Linked DNA regions of Homo sapiens: region 2 is linked to region 1. Evidence: promoter capture Hi-C in human tissues and cell types (Jung and others, 2019). All regions are on one chromosome and are shown on one strand. Each heading gives the region's core, a stretch centred on a gene start or on the middle of the fragment in contact. The rest is flanking DNA. Distances are from core to core; before and after follow the strand shown.

Region 1 (2,802 bases), core at 303-2,802:
TTCTTTGGAGGGATCACTTATAGAGACGGGAAGGGCTGTGACTTGGGAGTCTCCTCTCCTTTCAGAGCTTTCTTCAACCCCAAGCTGGATATGGTCTCCTAAGAGAGCAGGAGCCCCAGAGAAGTGGGTGGGTGTCTGGAGGGTTACCCTGAGCCTGGTGCCAGCCACAACGGGGCAGATATTCTAGGTGATGACTTACAATCCCTGGGGTTCCAAACTAAAGGTAATTATGAGAATAGGACAGTTATTTTGATTTGAGTTCTAGATGTTCATTCAAACATTCAACAACTATTTCTTAAACTCTGAGCTATGTCCTTGGGATGCAGTGGTGGAGCTTCAACTACTGCTTTTATGGAACTTGTGGTCAGGTTTCTAACAAGAAATAGGAAAGAGATTCGAGGTGAGCACACCAGGGAGACAGATAGGCTTGCCCAAGCAAGCCCCATAAGTCAAAAAGGGGGTAACAAGTGTCCACGAGAAATCTGGAGGTGAAGGTTGTGTCTCACTCCTCTTTCTCTTTCTATAACACATGCGTGCACACACCATCGTGTTCACCGACATGCAGATTATTATCTCAAATAAATGCTCACTGAACAGCCATAAATGAACAAGACCACGCTGTGGCAGAACAGTAAGGGACAGCTTTGTAAAACCTCAATTAACCAGCATGCCTTAGGCTCGGGCTGTCTTGGGAGTGTTTCTAGCACTTGGCGTCTGCTCTTTGCTCTCACTCACTCACAACTTGGTCTGTGTGCCTCGATGGACCAGGCAAGTAGAGGCCAAGGAGAGGTCGCCCACATGTCCTCAGATAGCTCATTGTCCAGATACACCTAATTGCCAGGGTGGGGAGTGGCATTGTCAGCCTGGCGACCCCGGGATCAAGAAACGCAGGGCACTGTCCTGGAGATAGTGGCACTGGCATTCAGAGCGTCACCGTTCCTTCTCTCCCATGGGGCAGGTTAGGATTTGGCATAAAATGATCCAAATGAGCAGCTGGTTTGAGGTAGGCGCGCCTGATATTGGCAGCTCCTCTCTCGCTGGCCAGGTCTGCGGGGGCACCCACAGACTCCACAAGAGGCCGCCCAAATAAAGGGTCTAGGCCTCGAGAGGGAAGGGCGGGCTAGAAGCCACGGGGGGCAAGAGTCGAGCCCCATCTGCGCCAAGTACGCCAGGTTTCCCTAGGTCTGACCGCCCTGACGGGCCTCGCCACACCCTGGCTCTCCCCCACCTTCGTTCCTTTCCGCCCTGTCGGTCGGACGACTGCGCTGTGCATCGGTGTCTCGCGAGGTGGAGGAAGGGACTGGCATCTAGGTTTAAAAGACCAGAAACAAATGTCCCCTGACAATTTCTGTCATTTTCTGGATTCAAAAGAGGGGTAGAGTGGGGAAGACAGACGCAGCGGGGCAGCGAGACACGGTCCCCCCCGGGGGGCTCTCAGGGGTACGGCGAGGAGGTTCTCTCCTGCCCGGGTGCGGGCTCGGGTGGGCGGGCGCACGCCCCCCAGCCCCGCAGCCCCGCGGGCCCCGCATGACATCAGAGGCTGGGGAGCGCACAGAGCGCAGGCGCCGGCGGAGGAGGCAGGCGGGAGGGGGCCGACTGGCGCGGCTCTGGAGAGCGCTCCTCCGCCCCGCGCGCCGTCCCTGCGCCCCGCTCCGCCCGCGCCTCTCTCCCAGCGCCGCGCCTCGGGCGTAAAGAGCGCGCCCCTCGCACCGCAGCCAGTGCCGACCGCAGCAGCCCAGCCCCAGCCTTCCTCCGCCTCCGCCTCTCTCTCCTCCTCCTCCTCCGCCGCCGGACACGCAGCCGCAGGCCGGGACCGGGACGCAGCTGGGGAGTCAGGGACGCGCGCAGCCAGCCCTTCCCCCTCCGGCTCCCGCACCGCCGGCCGCCTCCCCTCGCCCTCCTACTCTCCCCTCCCTGCTCCTTCGCTTTTTCCTCCTCCTCCTCTCCCGGCCCCGGCTGCCAGCACCATGTCCGCAGGGGGAGATTTTGGGAATCCACTGAGAAAATTCAAGTTGGTGTTCTTGGGGGAGCAGAGCGGTAAGTACCCGGCTTAATCTCTTGGCTTGTCGCCGAGTCGACCCCCGCCGCCCAATCGCCCACCCCATTGGGACCCCCGGCCCAGGCTCGGAAAGGCCCCTCCTTGCCAGGGTAGAGGAGAGGGACAGGGATGGGGAGGTCGGGGCGGGGTCGGGCTGGGGAGGGGCCAAGGGTGAGGACGGAGGAGGCGCTGGAGCCTGGGGTGGAGGTGAGGGTGGGCTCTGGGTGGGGGGCCCGGGGTGTGGGTGCAGGTGCGGCGCTGCAGGGGGCCCGGAGGGCGGCGGCTGGCTCCGCGGCGCTGGCCAGGGCGTGAAGGAACCGGGCTCGCTGGCTAGCTCACACTGCGGCACCGGCTGCGGGCGACCGCGCAGGTGGCTGGGTGCTGGCGGGGGTGGGGAGAGCGACGGGCGCCCCCCTTGGAGAACGAAGCGAAGCTGGGGTCTGGCCGGGCCTCACTCCGCTGCACTGGAGGGGTGTTCCCTGCGGACCCTGCTGGGAACCATGCGAAAGGGCACGTCCAGGGCGTGGGACAAACAGCCACCGGGGAGAAAAGAGCGACACCTGTCTCTGCTCGAAAGAGCGAGTGCAGGCCATGGGGGAACGGGGAGCCTACCTCCCCTGGCTCACGTCCGACTGGGCACAGAAGGTTCTAGACCCGCTGCCCTTCGCCGGCGCTTGTTAGTCTCCTTGCTGCCCAGGGATCTGGGCAATTGCAGTGAGGGCTACCCCAACTCGAGGCGATTTGGGGAATGATACAGGGGCACC
Region 2 (2,887 bases), core at 176-2,675, 290 kb before region 1:
CTGGTAGATTTGCAAGACTTTAAAAAATACTAGAATTTTAATTACTTACAACAGATGCTTGTGAAAGCTTAAATAGTTCTGAATTAAGAGCTGGGTGCAGTGGCTCACAATTGTAATCCCAATGCTTTGGGAGGCTAAGGCAGGAGGATTGCTTGAGTCCATAAGTTCAAGATCGGCCTGGGCGATATAGCAAGACCCCCCGTCTCTACAAAAAAAAAAAAAAAAAGTAGCTGGGTGTGGTAGCATATACCTGTAGTCCCAGCTACTCAGGAGGATGAGGCAGGAGGATTGCTTGAGCCCAGGAATTCAAGGCTGCAGTGACCCCTGATCATGCCACTGTACTCCAGCCTAGGTGACAGAGCAAGATCCTGTTTTAATTTTTAAAAATGATGATAATAATTCTGAGGTAAGTCTTATTTGCTTATCTAGAGAGAAAGAAAAATGTGATAATTTATAGGGTGCTTAATGTCTATCAGGTCTGATGTAAATTGAGAAGACATGCTAATAATATCTAAAAACAAATTTAGCACTTTCCCTTCAGAAACTGAAGGGAAGATTAAATTCAGTTTTATGAGTAGAAAGTGATAAAATTTTATACAGTTTATGAAGTTAATTTATAAGAACTGTTTCTAAATTTACTTAAAGGAATACATGGAAAGTATGAAGGGTTTATGTTTATTGGTTGTAAAAAGTTGGGTTATACCAATCTAACAAAAAATCTTTGGAATTGCTTTTAATTGAACAAAATTGTTTGTTTAAGGCTGCTACAAATACATCCATACACACACACCTCTTTAATATTTTCTAAACAAGTGGTTTAATTTACTATATCATTCAATATTTATTTTATTCATTCACCCCTTCCCAGCACCAAAAACACTTTTAAAGGGTAATATTTATGTGTTAGGTCCATCCTTTCGGCTAAGACCAAGTGTAAGTTAGGTCCCAGTAGGTTTTCTGACTAGGAGAGTTTACATATTACTTTTTGTAAATGTAAAATTTGAACTATAAGGTTATTAAACAACAGCCTTTTGTTACTCTTTTCTCATTTTTTTTTTAAGGAAACTCCTTAATTCAAATATTTCTTCCGGGGTTTGTAAGTATTCTATAGACTGTGTAGAACTGGGCTATTATTGACTTGTTCTGAATTAAGGAAGGAGGTTTTTATACAAAATTGGGTTGATTTAGGGTTGGAAGGGGAGATAAAAGGAAATAATAGTGATAAGAAAACACAATGAGTATACTTGGACTGTTTCACAAGATAAGACTTCTCTTTCCGTATATGCTTGACTTGTAGTCACTGGTTGTTTCTGTGCTTTACCACTGTAATTATAATGTTCTCTGTGAGCTGTGCGGAAATAAGAGAAAGCACAGTGAGTCCTTATGGGGGACAGAGGGGAAGTGCATTGCCTCAAATTTGTTAGAGAGATAGCGCCACATGACTGTCTCTGAGATTGATTATTTTGGAATGCTGTTTTTATGGTTTTAGTTGTAGCCACATAGAGCTGACCAAGGTCTTTCACAAATCTGTATGCTTTGTTACATGTTGCACAATTAGAAGTTTAGCATAAAATAAAAAAACAGTGTTTTAGAAAGCACTGACCTTTGCCTTTAGGCATAAGCAGAAAATTGGAGTTTGGCTTTTAAAAATATTCATAATTTTATACAGAGACTTCATAGATACTCCAGTATAAATTTCCAGAGATTGAAATTAGCAACCCGAATCTTACACACTAAATATTGTGAAATTGAATTCCATAAAATAAATGAATCAGTTTGGATTTACTGGTATTAAGTTCTTATTTTCTTTATTATAGCTACTAAATTTTTATAGTTTTGTAAATAAGCAAGTGTTTGTTTTTAAAAATCATTTTGTGCATCCTTGTAACTTTTAGAATATATTTAATAGTACCCTTTTCAAATGTGTACATCTTGAAGATAGACCTTTCATTATGTAATTAAAAGACTAGGATGAGACTGGGAAAGGAATCCAAGAAAACGAGTTTTTCTTACTAAATGGATAAAGTTATTTTATCTTTAATTGAGTTTTCTTAGATCATCATTCAAGTGTCCTTTGCTTTAATAGAACATGCTTATCAAAATAAAAACTTGAAAAAAGTAAGTATAAAATGACACATTCTGAAATTACCATTTGTTGTACTTAGATCTCCTTACCAGTTGAGGGAATGGTAAAAGTCTTTTTAACTGGGCAGGGACCTCCAACTATTACTAGTTTTCAGTCTTGAAAAGATCCTACTAGCCTCCAGTAGTCCTGGCCATAATTTCATTAGAAATTATTTAGGTTATAGAAAGAGTAATAAAGGCACATTTTGCTATTTACTAAGAAATCCCACAAGCAGTTTGTAGACACTTAGAGTTTATTCCAGCAGACATTGATATGAAGCACCTTTTCCAAAGAAGTACCGAATGTTTCAGATCCTTGGCTTTTTGTCTACCCATTTTACATTCCTACAAAAGTCTTAACTAAGAGAAGTTGCTTGGAAAGGGGACACTTAGTAGCAAGTAATGGAAGTGAAGCAAGACGAAGTGAAGCAGGAATGAGATTCCAATGGGTAGATGTGGAAGTAAATGAAATTTGAGATTTCTCAGCTTTGACAGTTCCACATTTAAAGACCAAATGTGACAATCATAGTATCTGAATTCAGTGGGGTGGGTTTTATTGTTGGTTCAGCATTTTCCTAGGTGGGTCTAGAATATGAATCTTGGCTTTGCCAGTCTTTTACATTTCTCTCTTCCTCTTATTGCATTGGTCCGAAGCTTTATAAATTATTATTTAATTAATTAATTAATTTATAGATGGGGTCTCACTCTGTCACCCAGGCTGGAGTGCAGTGGCACAATCATAGCTCACTGCAGCCTCAACCTC

The links. The method cuts DNA at HindIII sites, captures the fragments that hold promoters and counts their contacts. A contact is called where the count stands out against the background at its distance.
Region 2: a contact is called between a fragment that was not itself captured here and the fragment with the promoter of RAB6B in region 1, in 2 of the 25 tissues and cell types used here (aorta and stomach).

The regions. Positions count from the first base shown.
Region 1 is chr3:133,894,632-133,897,433 of GRCh38, reverse strand. RAB6B (RAB6B, member RAS oncogene family) reads left to right here and starts at 1,552. Exons shown (of 8, transcript NM_016577.4): 1 at 1,552-2,037. The coding sequence starts at 1,968. RefSeq lists a silencer at 1,533-1,582. The HindIII fragment of the contact is 14,643 bases long and covers 1-2,802 here.
Region 2 is chr3:134,185,061-134,187,947 of GRCh38, reverse strand. All of the region lies in intron 9 of RYK (receptor like tyrosine kinase), which reads left to right. Among named protein-coding and RNA genes, the nearest start is that of RYK, 64 kb to the left of the region's middle. The HindIII fragment of the contact is 4,811 bases long and covers 1-2,887 here.